4 separate regions of the Homo sapiens genome follow, and regions 1, 2 and 3 are each linked to region 4. The links are contacts of gene promoters, found by promoter capture Hi-C in blood cells and fetal thymus (Javierre and others, 2016). All regions are on one chromosome and are shown on one strand. The core of a region is centred on a gene start or on the middle of the fragment in contact, and the rest is flanking DNA. Distances in the headings are between cores, read along the strand shown.

Region 1 (3,546 bases), core at 681-3,180, 420 kb before region 4:
CCACCCCGCCATTCCCACAAAAAGCACTTGAAAAAACCCTCAACCTATAATACAAAAAAAAAAACCCAGAAACTACAGAACAACAGAAAAAAAAATTCAGTAAAATAAAAACTCAAAGATGAACTATAACTCACAACAAAATGAGAAAAAAAGTTTCCTAATGTCAGACATTCTAAAACAAGGATAAATGGTATCCCTGAAGTAAGAAATTCAACTAATGTAAAAAATAATTCAAAAATATAAAAAAATTCCTTGAAAGTGAGAAAATAATTTACAGATTTAACGACAGCACTGTGTTTCAGGAAAATGAGACAGAAAATGAAATGCAATCGATCCCCTATTGTTCAGCCACTCAACTTCAAGGATAAGGAAAGAATACTTCGGGTACCCCGAGCAGATTTAAAAGTAAATCACTACCAATTATCAGGTTGGCAAAGGCCTCCCATAGCAGTAATCAAGAATATTATTTTATAACCAGCCAACATGTCATTCTACTAAGAGGAAACAGGCAAAGCTCTCAAACACAACCTCTGAATAGAGGATCCAGAAGCCTTTCTAACAAGGTGAGAGCAAAAAACCGCTACCTGATAATGAAAGCCAACCAGTTAAGAACCTAAGAATGAAGAGAGGCCCTGCTAAAACGCTGGGGAATGAAGAGTGAACATATTTTATATTCTATTTTTTTAAGAACTACAGATCAATTACAAGTTGAGTCACTATAACTTGCACTATCACTGTCTGGGTTCAAAGCCAAGCTGTGTCACTAGGTCTATTCTGTACACCTTGGGTTGCTCATTTGCATGAGACTGTTAGAACAACTAAATGAGTTAATATTAGCAAAATACAAATAACAGTGATTACAACAACAACAAAATACCTTTCAAAGAAATACTATTGGTGAGGCATGGTGGCTCATGCCTGTAATCCTAGCACTCTCAGGGGCCGAGGCAGGAGGACTGCCTGAGCCTAGGACTTTGAGACCAGCCTGGGCAACAGAGCCAGACCTCCAACTCTACAAAAAATTAAAAAATAGCTACGTGTGAGGGTGCGTGCCTGTAGTAGTCTCAGATACTTTGGAGGCTGAGGCAGGAGGACTGCCTGATCCCAGGAGGTTGAGGCTACAGTGAGCCATGATGATGCCACTGCATTGCAGCCTGGGTGACAGGGCAAGACCCTGTCTCAAAAAACAACAACAACAACAAAACCCCACCCCACCAAAACACACACACACACACACACACACACACACACAAAACAAACAATTTAGTGCAGATCCACTGCCATGGCAATTTTAAAGATTATACCCATCAGGCACAATTTCTTTTTACTAACCATGTTGCTCTTCCTAGAATACCCATGATCCTAAGTCTTAATGAAATCTCACCCAGCCTGCTTGGTACAGAAGTTAGACCTACTAGTCCACAGTTCCTTGGTTATTCTCTGAAGCTTTTCCTTTAACTAGAAATAACTTTAGTAGGTGATCAATAAGATTAACATGAGAACAAAATATTTATAAGTGATGTTAATTGAACCATAGCTTCCTGTTTTAAATTGTATGAAATACAGAAAGCATTATTTTCTGATAATTATATACATTCTTTCACTTCCATGAATATGAAGGAATTACTGAATTATTTCTCATTACTAACCTAGTTCAAGCTTCCCTTTTTAAAGGACTACATACAATAACTGACCATTTTTGCTTTTACATAGTATACCTTCTACTCATTTGATTTCCTCTACCATTTTTTCTTTTCCTCTTTCCTGTCTTCAAGACTGCATATTAAGCCTGTATAAGAAGTACTAGTAATTGAAATGTCAACTATCCTTTAAAACATCACCTCTTAAATACTTTATAGTATTCATGACTCACAAGAATAGTTAAGAGCCAAAACAGTACAAGAAAAATGACTGACATTAGCCAATTAAAAAATCTGTTATTCAAATGGGCATTTTACAAAACTGCAGAATACAAGGTCGAGAAGATTTTCAGGTCAAATAGTTGTGCCTTTTCAAACAGTACTGTTTTCCATGGTTCAATAGAGCAAAACTGTTCATACAAACAGAAATGGAAGGGCAAGAGTGAAAGGGCATACAACATGCCAGTCTGAGCTCAGGTTTTCTCAAGCACTGCGATGGGTGGTGCTCAATAACCTTCAGGAGAGTTGGGTCCCCCACTACATCTCATTTCTAAAAGCTTAGTCTAAAAAAAAACCATTCCTTAAATATACCATTTCTGCTATGTTTTCCAGAGTCAAAAGCATCACTAATGAAGAGACACCAACATTTAGCCATTAAAGTTAAATTAATCATAATTCCAAAACAGGCACTATATATATTCATATTTTACCAGAAATGTGTTTCAGAACATCTTAAAGAAAAACCTCCTATTTTGCAAATAAAAGCCTTAATTTTTCAACTACGTACCATTGCTGAATACTTTGTTTACATTTCTGCTAACTTTAGCAGGTACTCACTTTTTACTTTAAGCTCTAATATTCCATATCCCAGCCTCCTTTTCAGGAAAGCAAGACATAATACATTAAATAAACAAAATAGCTTCAAAGGTACAGAAAAATCTCAAACATTACTCCATTTTTCTTTTTCTTTTTATTATTTGAGATGGAGTCTTGCTCTATCACCCGGGCTAGAGTGCAGTGGCGCAGTCTCGGCTCAGTGCAACCTCCGACTCCAGGGTTAAAGCAATTCTCCTGTCTCAGCCTCCAGAGTAGCTGGGATTACAGGCGCGCACCACCACGCCCAGCTGATTTTTGTATTTTTAGTAGAGATGGGGTCTTGCCACGTTGGTCTGGCTGGTCTCAAACTCCTGACCTCAGGTGATCTGCCTGCCTTGGCCTCCCAAAGTGTTAGGATTACAGGCATGAGCCACTGCTCCCAGCCATTACTCTACTTTTCTGAAAAACATAGCTTATAAATAAATCCAAGAAAAATAAAAGTATACAGCACAGAAAAGGCACAAAATGTTGTTTTTTTACCTAATAAAAATCTCACGGAGAGAGTTTCACAGAAATTTCACTTCCTCCCTGTTATATTTATTTATTTATTTTCAACAGCCTATTGACAGCTAAAGAAACTTGAGGGGAGTCCTTGTTCAGAAAGCGGAGTGCTATTATAGTCAATCACTAATCACGGACTGGCTTTAACAGCTTTCAAAGTGAAAAAAAAATGGACATTTCAAGGTGAGGCTGATGATACTCAATATCCAAAAATAACCAACTTCTTTTGAAAAAAGTCTAGTGAGACAACTGCCATATAAGAGTACAGACAAATTCAAAAATAAATTAGATTTGTGGGTATGGTCTGAATCTTATCTTTAACAGGCATTCTAGGAGACTCTAATACATACCAATTATTAAGCATTATATGAGACCACAGATATAGCCTCATTGTAATAAGTAATATTAAAATTAATGGAGCCGGCTGGGCGTGGTGGTTCACACCTGTAATCCTAGCACTTTGGGAGGCCGAGACAGGCGGATCACATGAGGTCAAGAGTTCGAAACCAGCCTGGCCAACATGGTGAAA
Region 2 (4,052 bases), core at 106-2,605, 440 kb before region 4:
CTATGCACCTAAGACATGGAATCAATCTAAATGCCCATAAATGACAGACTGGATAAAGAAAATGTTGCACATTTACACCATGGAATACTACGCAGTCATAAAAAGGAATGAGATCACGTCCTTTGCAGGGACATGGATAGAACTGGAAGCCATTAAACTAATGTAGGAACAGAAAACCAAACATGTTCTCACTTACAACTGGGAGCTGAATGATGCAAACACACGGACACAAGGAAGGGGGAACAACACACACTGGGGCCTGTCGGGGGTGTGGGGGAGGGAAAGCATCAGGAAGAATAGCTAATGGATGCTGGCTTAATACCCAGGTGATGGTATGATCTGTGCAGCAAAACACCATGGCACACATTTACCTATGTAAACAAACCTGCACGTTCTGCACATGTACCCCTGAGCTTAAAATAAAAGTTAAAGAAAAAATAAATAAATAAATAAATTTAGGTCTGAGACGGGGGTACAATTTTATTCTTTTCTATGTGGACATACAGTTGCCTCAGCACCATGATGAATTTCTTGAAAAGTGAGGTTGACATAATTGGAAAGCCATCTGGAAAATAACAAAATTAGATTTCATTACTCCTATCTTAAACCAAGTTTCAAAATGGATCTGAGATTCAAATGTAAGAAAATTAACCCATACAGTGCTGGAGGCAAGGATAGCTGAATTCCTCTAAAATGTAGCAGTGAGGAAAACTCTATTAAATTCCAGAAACTATTAAAGAAAAAACGGATCAATCTGCTTATATAAAAACTTTTAAAACTTTCGCACAGAAAAATACTAAAAGTAAACAGTGAAAAACTGAAAATATATTTTTGCAGCTTAAATACACAGAGTTAATATCCCAATTATCCACAAAAAAGCTTCTTAAAAGTAGAGAAGAAAAAGGCCAACAGCCTTGTTTAAAAATGGGGAGGGGGCAGGGGGAGAGGAACAAGCAATTTATGGAAAAAATGCAAATGGCTCTTAAACATACAAATATGCTACTGAGAGGGATTTAAATGAAAACTACGTGGAACATATTCATCATGAATCTTGATTATGGTGTTGGTTTCACGGGTCTGTGTCCAAACTCAAAACACTTTAAAGATGCACTTTATTGCACCAAGTGTACCTCGATAAAGCTCTAAGGAAAAAAACACACACTTAGATACCATATATTGTTTTTCAGATTGGCAAAAATCCCAGTCTTTCTTGATCCTTTGTCAGTGAGGCTATGAGAGGTAGAAGCACTCTCATACTCTGCTGGTCAAATGCAGAATCCTCAATGAAGGAGAGTCAGGCAATATCTAGAAAAATTAAAATTCATCTACGACCAAATAAATACCATAATCACACTGAGGAGGAAAGGGTACTAATCCAAGTAAATTTGAAGTGCAATACTTCAACTATATACTCTGTCTAAAAAGGAGAACCATGAAGAAATACTAAATGTCACTTAGATTTGTTGTTGACAGTGGCATGGGTATAGCAATTCTGAAACTGTTTAGCACATATTAACCAAATAGAAGCCAGGTTTCTCGCAGGGAAGAAGGGAGATAGGAATAAGGCATTGGGGAAGGCAATGAACCCTGGCAACTCACTTGGGAGTTAGAGTGTTGGCATGAATTTGGATTAAGAGACCAGAAGAACTTCTAAAGAAGTGGTAATTTCTATTTCTTAACCTGAAGAAAGATACTCAAACTGGAACTGTATTTTTTATAAACTTTTCTCTATATATTTATTTCACAATAAATTTTTAAAATTAAGGGCAAATGAAAAATATTTTCAAGGGTAACATCCAAGATGTTTTTATTATTTTCTAGTAGAAGCTTTAAATGGAAAAATCCTTTTGGATTTTTATATTACGCAAATTCCCAGTTGGTACTGTTTTCACAAACACACTAGTGTATTTTGACATTCATTCTTTTTTTCAGTAGTAGCATAAAGACTTACTACATTTAGGTAGATATAGTGGCTCATGCCTATAATCCCAACACTTTGGGAGGCTGAGGTGGGAGGATCACTTGAGCTCAGGAGTTCAAGACTAGCCTGAGCAACAGAGGAGACTGTATCTCTACAAAAAATAAAAAAAAATAAAAAAATTAGCCAGGTGTGGTAGCATGTGCCTATAGTCCTAGCTACTTGGGAGGCTGAAGTGAGATTACTTGAGTCTAGGAGATTGAGGCTGCAGTGAGCCATGATCAAACCACTGCACTCCAGACTGGAAGAGAGAGCAAGACCCTATCTCAAAAAACAAAACGCCATTCATCATTACTTTTAAGAAAATTTTCCTTCTTTTGGCAAGAAACATTATTTTCATGTTTAAGTTTCCAGTATAAGGCTTTTCCTAATCTTCCTAAATTTGAGGTTAAGAACCAGATTGGTGCAGAAGACTCAATTACCTCCTTCAATCATATAGGAAAAGGAAAGCGCACTGCAGAATCATTGTGAAAGCTGGATGAAATGATGAGAATACTGGAAAAATGTTTTTTCTAAATTTTAAATCTATGTTGATGGGCATACAATGCACAGAGACATATTCTGTAAGAGAAAAACAGCACAAAGTGGGAGACAAAGCTCTATAGAAGCAAAGTTTACATGTACTACTGACATTAAATTGGTATTTAATGTCCAAATAATCCAAACTAGATTGTTTTAAATTAAAATGTTAATTGTAGGCTGGGCAGTATGGCTCATACCTGTAATCCCAGCACTTTGGGAGGCTGAGGCGGGCAGGTCACTTGAGGCCAGAAGTTCAAGACCAGCATGACCAACATGGCAAAACCCTGTCTCTACTAAAAATACAAAAAATTAGCTGAGTGTGGTGGTGCATTCCTATAATCCCAGCTACTTAGGAGGATGAGGTATGAGAATCGCCTGAACCTCGGAGGCAGAGGTTGCAGTGAGTTGAGATCGTGCCACTGCACTCCAGCCTGGGTGACAGTGCAAGACTCTTGTCTCGAAAAATAACATAACGTAACGTAACGTAACATAACACAACATAACATATCACATAACATCAGATCACAACATAACATAAAATGTTAATTATAATCCCCAGGGTAACCATTAAGAAAACAATGTTTTAAAATAGAGAGGGCCAGGCATGGTGGCTCATGTCTGTAATTCCAGCACTTTGGGAGGCCGAGGCAGGCGGATCACAAGGTCAGGAGTTCGAGACCAGCCTGACCAACATGGTGAAACCCCGTCTCTACTAAAAATAAAAAAATAAAAATTAGCCAGGCATGGTGGTGGACACCTGTAATCCCAGCTACTCAGGAGGCTGAGGCAGGAGGTGGAGGTTGCAGTGAGCCGAGATCGTGCCACTGCACTCCCGGCTGGGTGACAGAGTGAGACTCCGTCTCAAAAAACAAATAAATAAAATAGTAAGAGAAAGAAAAAAGAACTGAAATGGTACACCAGAACATATCTACTTAACACAAAAGGCAGTAATGGAAGAAGTGAGAAACAAAAAAAGACATGACATACAGAAACAAATGAAACAGCATAAGTCCTTCCTTATCAGTAAGTACACTGAATGTAAATGTTAAACTGTCCAATTAAAAGACAGAGATTGGCAAAATGAATTAAAAAACATGATCCAACTGTATGCTGTCTAGAAGGGATACACTTCAGATTCTAACACACAAAAAGACTGAAATAAAAAGGAAAAAATGTACCATCCAAACACTAACGAAAAAAGGGATGAAGTGGCTATACTAACATCAAGCAAAAGAAACTGTAAGATAAAAATTGTTGCTAAAGACAAAGAAGGACATTTTACAATGACAAAAGGAAAATCATCAAGAAAATATTACAATTATAAACATACATATAACTAAAACCAGAGTACCCAAACACATAAAGCTAAATCAGAAGTTTAGAGATAGACAACAATAGTTCTTTCACTTTATGAGCAGAAAAACTAGATAAGTTTATCTTCTGATCAATAAATAAACAGAAGATGAACAGTATCATAAACCAAAGACTGAACAGGCATACACAGAATGCTCCACTAACAGAATATACATTCATCTCAAGTACAAACGGAACA
Region 3 (3,789 bases), core at 328-2,827, 490 kb before region 4:
CACTCCCAAAGCTGCTTTTGGGCTCTCTTCTATTCACTAGCACATCAAGGGTAACCATTATAGAGTTGTGCTCCTGTTTGAACTTGATTTTGTTTATCCTTATTACAGTGGAGAAACTCCAAGATGAACCCCAAAGATCTCCATCTCCAGCTGTTCACACTCCTATGTAATCTCTAGCCCTTGGGTGTGGAAAGGACTTGTGACTTACTTTAACCAACAACAGAATATAGCAAAGGTAAAAGGATGTTATTTCTGTGATTAGACTATACAAGATTGTGACTTCTGTCTTGCTAGCAGACTCTACTGCTTTCTCAGTTTGCATGCTAGAATAAAGTAAGGAACTACTTTGGAGAGGCCCACATGGTAAGGACTGAGGGCAGCTTCTTGGCAATCACCAGCTAGGAACTGAGTTCCTTAGTCTAACAGGTCTTCAGATCCTGAATCCTGCCAAGAGCTCTGGCTGGTGCCTCTCCTTCCATTGAGCCTTCAGATGAAAACCTGGCCTTTGCCAATATTTGACTGTAGCCTGTGAGAGACCCTGAAGCAGAGAACCCAGCTCAGCTACATCCAGATTCCTGAGCCACAGAAAATGAGATTATAAGTGTGTATTGTTTGAAGCTGCTAAGTTTTGTGGTAAGTTGTTGCACAGAAGTAGACAATTAATACAATTATGTTTATGTGATTCATCTATACTGCTACATTTTAGTTGTAGTTATTAATTTTCACTGCTCTTTTCTAATATTTATCTAGTCAACTGCTAATGTGCAGTTGGAAGGTTTTCAGTTTGGACTATTATGAATATAGGTGCTATAAAAATTCTTGTACATGTCTTTTGATGGACATATATTCACAGTTCCATTGGGTATTTATATAAAAATAGAATCACTGAATATGTTCAGCTTTAGTAGATGTTGCCAAACCTATTTCCAATGTGGTTACTCCAATTTACAGAGTTTCAGTTGCCCCATATCTTCACCAAAACTTGGTACTATGTGTCTTTCATTTTAGCCATTCTGGTGATAATGTAGCACTGTGACATGGTAGTTTGAATTTACATTCCCCACGGACTAATCAAGTTGCACACTGTCTAGAATGCTTACTGGCCATTTGGATATTGGTTTGTGAACTGCCTATTCAAGCTTTTTGCCCATTTTTCTATTATGCTATCATCTTTAGCTTACTTATTTGGAGGAACTCTTTATAAATTCTAGATATGAGTGGGTCCTTTGCCATACAAAGTTAAGACTGAGGTTGCGGAGGAAGGAGAAGGGAAGGGGGTGAGAGAGGGAGAGAGAGACAGAAGGAGGGATGGAGAACAAATGTTTTCTCCTATTCTGTGGCTTCCCCTTCCATAATATCTTGAAATTACATTTTTTGATGAACAAAATTTCTTGATATAATCCAAGTGATTTTTTTCCTGTAAGACTAAAGCTCCTTGTGAGCTGTTTAAAAGATCTTTGTCTATTCTAAGGTCACAAGTAAGTTCACTCATGTTTTCTTCTATAAGTTTATTATCTGATGTTTCATATTTAGATCTGCAATCCATCCAGAATGGATTTTTGTGAATGGTATGGAGTTGGGTCAAGATTATTATTTTTTCCCCACAGGGACAACTAATCTGTCCAGCTGATTTACTAAAAGAAAGACCATTCTTTCCTTACAGCATTGCATCATCATTTTTTTCATAAACCAGAAAACTGTATTACATATGAGTTTGTTTCCAGACTCTATTCTGTTCCATTGGTTTATTTGTAATTTTTATGTCTTTAAGCCCTTTATTACTCCTTTCCATGAGTTCTAGGAAGAAAGAGATAAGCTCTGCTTTCATCTGTAATTTTTAATGTGAAAGTCCTTAAGAGCTCACATTTTATTGTGTAAATTCAATTACAAAGCATTACCGTCGGGTTCTCTGTGTGCAGCTCTATTTTTACAGTGATCATTATTAGGCATACAAATGCTTAGAAAAATAATCCATTACATTTGTATAAAGCACTCTTTTACTAGATGTAAGCTTCCCAAATGTAGGTCTCTCATCTGTCTTGTTCACTGTTATCTTTAGTGTCAGATATCAGTCAATGCCTGGTACATCACAGACATTCAATAAGTGTTTGTTTGCTGAGTAATATGCTACTTTGAACACTGTGGAGACAATTTTGAAATTAAACTGAATTTCTTTCAAGTTAATGATCTCTAATAATTCATCCTACCTTTCTCTAATTAGGAAAGCATGTATTTCAACCGACCCACATTTTCAAGGAGGATATGTGAAATGTGGGATATATTCAGAAAAAAGGTCTGAGGTAGGAGTGAAGGCAATTCTAAATCTTTTGTAAAACAGGTGCAGTTATGGTTCTAGCAAATCAAAAGTTGAAGAACCAGATGCTGAACAAAAAGCTCTAGTTTTTGAGTCTAGTTTCTGTCTGTAGCAAGCAACGCCTTGAAATGAGCTCACAACATGTATTGGTAAAGGCATCTCAGGGCTCTCACCCTAGGAGTATCCTAACTTACCCACTTATACTGCACCTCTTCACCTGTGTTGACGGGCACCATCATTCATCACTATTACAGTAGGCATAATCATAATAAATAGTAAAGCGTAAAGGGAAACAATACAAATTGACTTTAAAACAACTATTACAAAGATAAGCCTGTTAACATCTTTAGCAAAGACTTGATAAAGAAACGCTAATACAGTTTTGTAGAAAATTGCTACTGACAAGAAAAAGCCACTACACTAAATAACAAACAGAAAAAAGATTTGCCCCATTTCAATATAGTTCAGTTAGGGAAGAATTGACATTGCTGCTTTAGAGATAATAAGTTTTATTATTTTTTTCTTCCTAACAGATGCCTAAGAACTGCAAATGAGAAATAATTTTCTCACCTGGTCACAGCATCTACCAAGAATGGCGCTGGGGGAGAGATCAGTGAGATTCCATCTTTATTACCATGTCCCTCCTTCCCTGTCAAAAGCATTTCACATCCCGCAAGTCCATTAGACATGGCACCACTCTGCTGTGGGAGATACACACACAACTAAATACAGGGTAACAATACCTGCCTGGTCAGCACTTCAGCTCCAAATCAAGCTTCACTAATGACTATGAGATTAACGAAGATGGTTTTGATAATTATGACTGTTTGTTTTGTTTTTCTTAACTATTCTTCATCTGAGACTTTTACTTTTGTTTCTGCCAGCATCCTGACAAACATTTACAACCAGAAAGGGTAAGCCACTAGCTTGAAGCCATTAAGTTAAGTTCAGTTAACAAGGCTTTGATAACAACCCTCATGTTTTTAAGGAAAAACAAAGAACCTAGTAATCCTTTAGGCCTTACCCTGAAAGGGTAGCCAGAAGAAAAATCACAAATAACATGAACTTACCGGAACAATCCACCGGGGTGTGATCATGGATGTGGAAGACACCTGAAATAATTTTATATGTATGTATTTACTTTTTGGAAAGACTGACTTATTTTCATACTTATAATACTTACTTACATCTATTATGAAATCCATTCTAGGAGGGCAATTCTTAATTCTTAATGGTGTTCCTTGAGCTGACATGGACTTCTAAATCCAAGACCCTTTTCTGTTATACAACACAGATGCTATCCCTCACCACTTAAGAAAGTGTCATAATTTTGAGAATCTCTTATCTAAAAATTTACCATTCAAGAATCTATTACTACTTTCAGTTCACTTAATAGGACTGCCCCTACCTCACACCCAGTATTCAGTTTAACATTTTATTTTCTGAAATTTCAGTTAATTAATTACAAATAATGA
Region 4 (3,522 bases), core at 351-2,850:
TCCCTGGGTCAGCCTGCAGACTGAACATCCTCCAGGGTCCACACCACCTTTTTAAACCAAAGTAACACAGCATAGTGGTGAAGAGTGTGGGCTCTAGAGCCAGAGTGCCTGTGTTCAAATCCCAGCTCCGTCTCTGTGCGTCAATTTCCCCATGTGCCAAACAGGTGTGTCGTAATGGCCCACCTCTAGGGTGGCGGTGATGAGCACATGAATAAACATACATAAAACATTTAGTGTCTGGCACAGCAGCAGATATTCCTTATAATAATGGCTGTAATGACTTTTATTCCCATCGCTGGGCACGGCACTCCAACTGCCTCATTCCACTCATCCCATGGTAAAGCCCTATGATTACTAATTTATAAGGAAAAACGTGTTCAATTTATTGAGTGCTTACTATATGCTAGACTCAGTTCTGAGCACTCTTACCGATTGAACCCTCACAACCCCATGACCTAATTACTACAGCTAACCCTATTTCAAAGCTGTGAAAACTTAAATGGCCAAAATCCTAAGCTAGTGAAGTGACAGTGTTATGGGCTGCACTGTGTCTCCTCCTCCTCCCCAGTTCATATATTTAAGTCCTAACCCCCAGTACCTCAGACTGTGGCTGTATTTGGAGACAGGGTCTTTAAGGAGATAATTAAGATAAAATGAGGCCATCAGTATGGATCCTAATCCAATTTGACTGGTGTACTTATAAGAAGAGATTAGGATGCAAACAGGCACAGCAGGAAGATCATGTGAGGATCCAGGGAAAAGGCTACCACCTACAAGCCAAGAAGGGAGGTCTCAGAAGACACCAACCCTGTTAACACCCTGGTCTTGAACTTCCAGCCTCCATAACTCCCAGAGGACAAATTTCTGCTGGTTGGGCCACCCAGTCTCCGGTACTTCGGCATGGCAGCTCTAGCAAGCTAACACAGGCATAGTCAGGTGTCCACAGCAAACTTTTTGTTTTAGAAAACTTGTTATGCCAAATTACAAGCATATACCAAAGTAGACAAAATAGTACATCCATCAACTTCAATCCCATCAACTCATGGCCAATCTTGTTTGATTTCTCTTTCCACCACACTTCCGTCCAACTGGTTTATTTTGAAACATCCCCGGGCATCCTATCACTTCATCCGTGAATACGTCAGTAAAAATTCACAATTATTTCACTTTGATTGAAACTTACTGTATTCCTGTCCGTGAAAAGTGCTTAATGAGCAACGAATGAGTTGCCGCAAACAAAAACGCAGGGTACCGCTTGGCCTATCTTAATCAAGAACTCCTATAAGAATCATTATCATTCGGGCTTTTTTTTTTTCCCAATGCGGAAAGTGAGGCTAAGAAAGGAAAGGTCTGGACCAAAGTCCAACGTCCCTAGGGCCATCGCGCTGCGGGGTGGGCCTAGAACACAGTACCATGCAGCCCGCCGGTGGCTGGGGGAGGAGGGGCTGCAGGAGCCCCGCAGAGGGGTCCTCGCTACGCTTCCACTCTGGGCCCCTAGGCTACTCCGCAGTCTGAACGCGTTACCGGGTCGCATCAGGCCGGAGAAGGGTCCCTCCCGCTCGTCCGTGCGCTCACCTCCGCCGCCGCTCGGAACGCCTACATGTGCGCGCGGCAGGGCGGCCGCAAAGCACGCCGGCCGGGGATCTGGGGGCGGGGACTTCGGGAGGCGGAGCTCGCCGGCCCCGGATCTTGGGATGGGGACTTCAGGGGGCGGAGCTCGCCGGCCGGAGATCTCGGGGCGAGGATTTCAGGGAGGGGAGCTCGCTCGACGGGTCTGGGGGCGGGACTCTTGGGGGTGTGGCTGGGGGGGCCTCAAGGGGATGTCCGTGGGGGGCTCCGGCCGCCGCAGAGGCTCCTTCTCTAACTGTGCACCTTGGGGTGGGTCCGCTAGCACTTCCTCCTCTGCGTTGAAATGCGTCTTTGATTAATACAAAAATTAGCTGGGCGTGGTGGCGCACGCCTGTAGTCCCCAGCTGCTGGGGAGGCTGAGGCAGGAGAATCGCTTGAACCTGGGAGGCAGAGGTTGCAGTGAGCCGAGAATACGCCACTGCACTCCAACCTGGGCGACAGAGCGAGACTCCGTCACACACACACACACACACACACACCCCGGTGTCTTTGATCATGCCACACACACACACACACACACCCCGGTGTCTTTGATCATGCCACACACACACACACACACACACATACCCTGGTGTCTTTGATCATGACACACACACACACACACACCCACCCCGGTGTCTTTGATCATCACACACACACACACACACACACACACACATCCCGGTGTCTTTGATCATGCCGTTGAACCCCCGAAGGAACGGCAGCCCCGCGTGGGTCACCAGGCGGCCTATGGCAGGGCCCCCATCAGAACCCATGCCCATCTGACTGGCCGGCCCGTGTACTTCTCCGTCTGGAAGCGCTCACCCTTGGCGGGGAGCTCTGAGCTTTATGTTTATTACCATGTTCGCTGCCCCCCAAGCTCCTCCCAGGTGCTTCACACTGTACAGTCCACAGAGCAGCGTGCCATCTGTCATTTCTCCTTTCCAGCTGCTCTGTGAGGTAGATGAGGGATCATCTAATCTGTGCACCAAATCCAGCTCTCCACCTGCTTTTGTAAATAAAGTTTTCTTGGAACACAGCCATGCCCAATCCTTTACAGAGGGTGAAAACAGACTGCCTAGGGTTAAAGCCGGGCTCCACCCCTTACTAGCTGTGTGATAAAATGAGTTGGTGTATATGTAACCTGTGCCTCACGGTTTGTGCCGCCTAGCCATTAGCTATTATTATTAAAGTCTGTTCTGTTTCTGAGCCCCCCCCCCCAATTTTGGCTGCTCAGTTGTTTGTATGTAAATAGTGCAATGTGACCTCAGCCAAAGCCAGAATGTGGGACATTCTACAGGGCAAATGACGTGGTTTATCCAACAAATCAATGGCATAAACAGGGAAGGAGGGGGACTCAAAAGAAAAGAGACTTGAGAGTCATTGCAGTTAAATGCAATATGTGACTTTTATTGGGATCCTGAACCAAATAAACTAACTGTAAAAAAGACACCTTGGGCTGGGCGCGGTGGCTTACGCCTGTAATCCTGGCACTTTGGGAGGCCAAGGAGGGCAGATCACCTGAGGTCAGGAGTTCAAGACCAGCCTGGCCAACATGGTGAAACTCCGTCTCTACTAAAATACAAAAATTAGCCAGGCATGGTGGCACACGCCTATAATCCTAGCTATTCAGGAGGCTGAGACGGGAGAATCGCTAAAACCTGGGAGATGGTGGTTGCAGTAAGCCGAGATTGTGCCACTGCACTCCAGCCTGGGTGGCTAAGTGAGACTCTGTCTCAAACAAACAAAGGAACAAACAAACAAACAAAAGGCATCTTGGAGAAATTTGAATTTGGATTTGAATATTAGATGATATTAATGAATTATTGCTTATTTCATCAGATGGGATGATGACATGGAGTTTATATAAACCAAAAAATTCTTACTAGAGATGCATACTGAAGTGTTTACAGG

Evidence for each region. The method cuts DNA at HindIII sites, captures the fragments that hold promoters and counts their contacts. A CHiCAGO score of 5 or more calls a contact.
Region 1: a contact is called between a fragment that was not itself captured here and the fragment with the promoter of TMEM177 in region 4, in 1 of 17 cell types (activated CD4 T cells). The highest score is 5.5, in activated CD4 T cells.
Region 2: a fragment that was not itself captured here is called in contact with the fragment with the promoter of TMEM177 in region 4 in 3 of 17 cell types (non-activated CD4 T cells, total CD4 T cells and total CD8 T cells); the score reaches 7.6 in non-activated CD4 T cells.
Region 3: a contact is called between a fragment that was not itself captured here and the fragment with the promoter of TMEM177 in region 4, in 9 of 17 cell types (total CD8 T cells, naive CD8 T cells, naive CD4 T cells and 6 more). The highest score is 11.1, in total CD8 T cells.

The regions. Positions count from the first base shown.
Region 1 is chr2:120,095,863-120,099,408 of GRCh38, reverse strand. All of the region lies in intron 14 of EPB41L5 (erythrocyte membrane protein band 4.1 like 5), which reads right to left. Among named protein-coding and RNA genes, the nearest start is that of EPB41L5, 85 kb to the right of the region's middle. The HindIII fragment of the contact is 538 bases long and covers 1,662-2,199 here.
Region 2 is chr2:120,114,734-120,118,785 of GRCh38, reverse strand. The region is part of intron 16 of EPB41L5 (erythrocyte membrane protein band 4.1 like 5); the gene reads right to left. Among named protein-coding and RNA genes, the nearest start is that of EPB41L5, 100 kb to the right of the region's middle. The HindIII fragment of the contact is 948 bases long and covers 882-1,829 here.
Region 3 is chr2:120,167,103-120,170,891 of GRCh38, reverse strand. It overlaps EPB41L5 (erythrocyte membrane protein band 4.1 like 5), which reads right to left. Exons shown (of 25, transcript NM_020909.4): 23 at 3,385-3,426; 24 at 2,885-3,015. It overlaps LOC105373582 (a long non-coding RNA gene), which reads left to right. Exons shown (of 2, transcript XR_007087216.1): 1 at 1-235; 2 at 2,848-3,789. Among named protein-coding and RNA genes, the nearest start is that of TMEM185B, 54 kb to the left of the region's middle. The HindIII fragment of the contact is 872 bases long and covers 1,142-2,013 here.
Region 4 is chr2:119,677,279-119,680,800 of GRCh38, reverse strand. It overlaps TMEM177 (transmembrane protein 177), which reads right to left and starts at 1,600. Exons shown (of 2, transcript NM_030577.3): 1 at 1,525-1,600. RefSeq lists a silencer at 1,524-1,753. The HindIII fragment of the contact is 6,463 bases long and covers 1-3,522 here.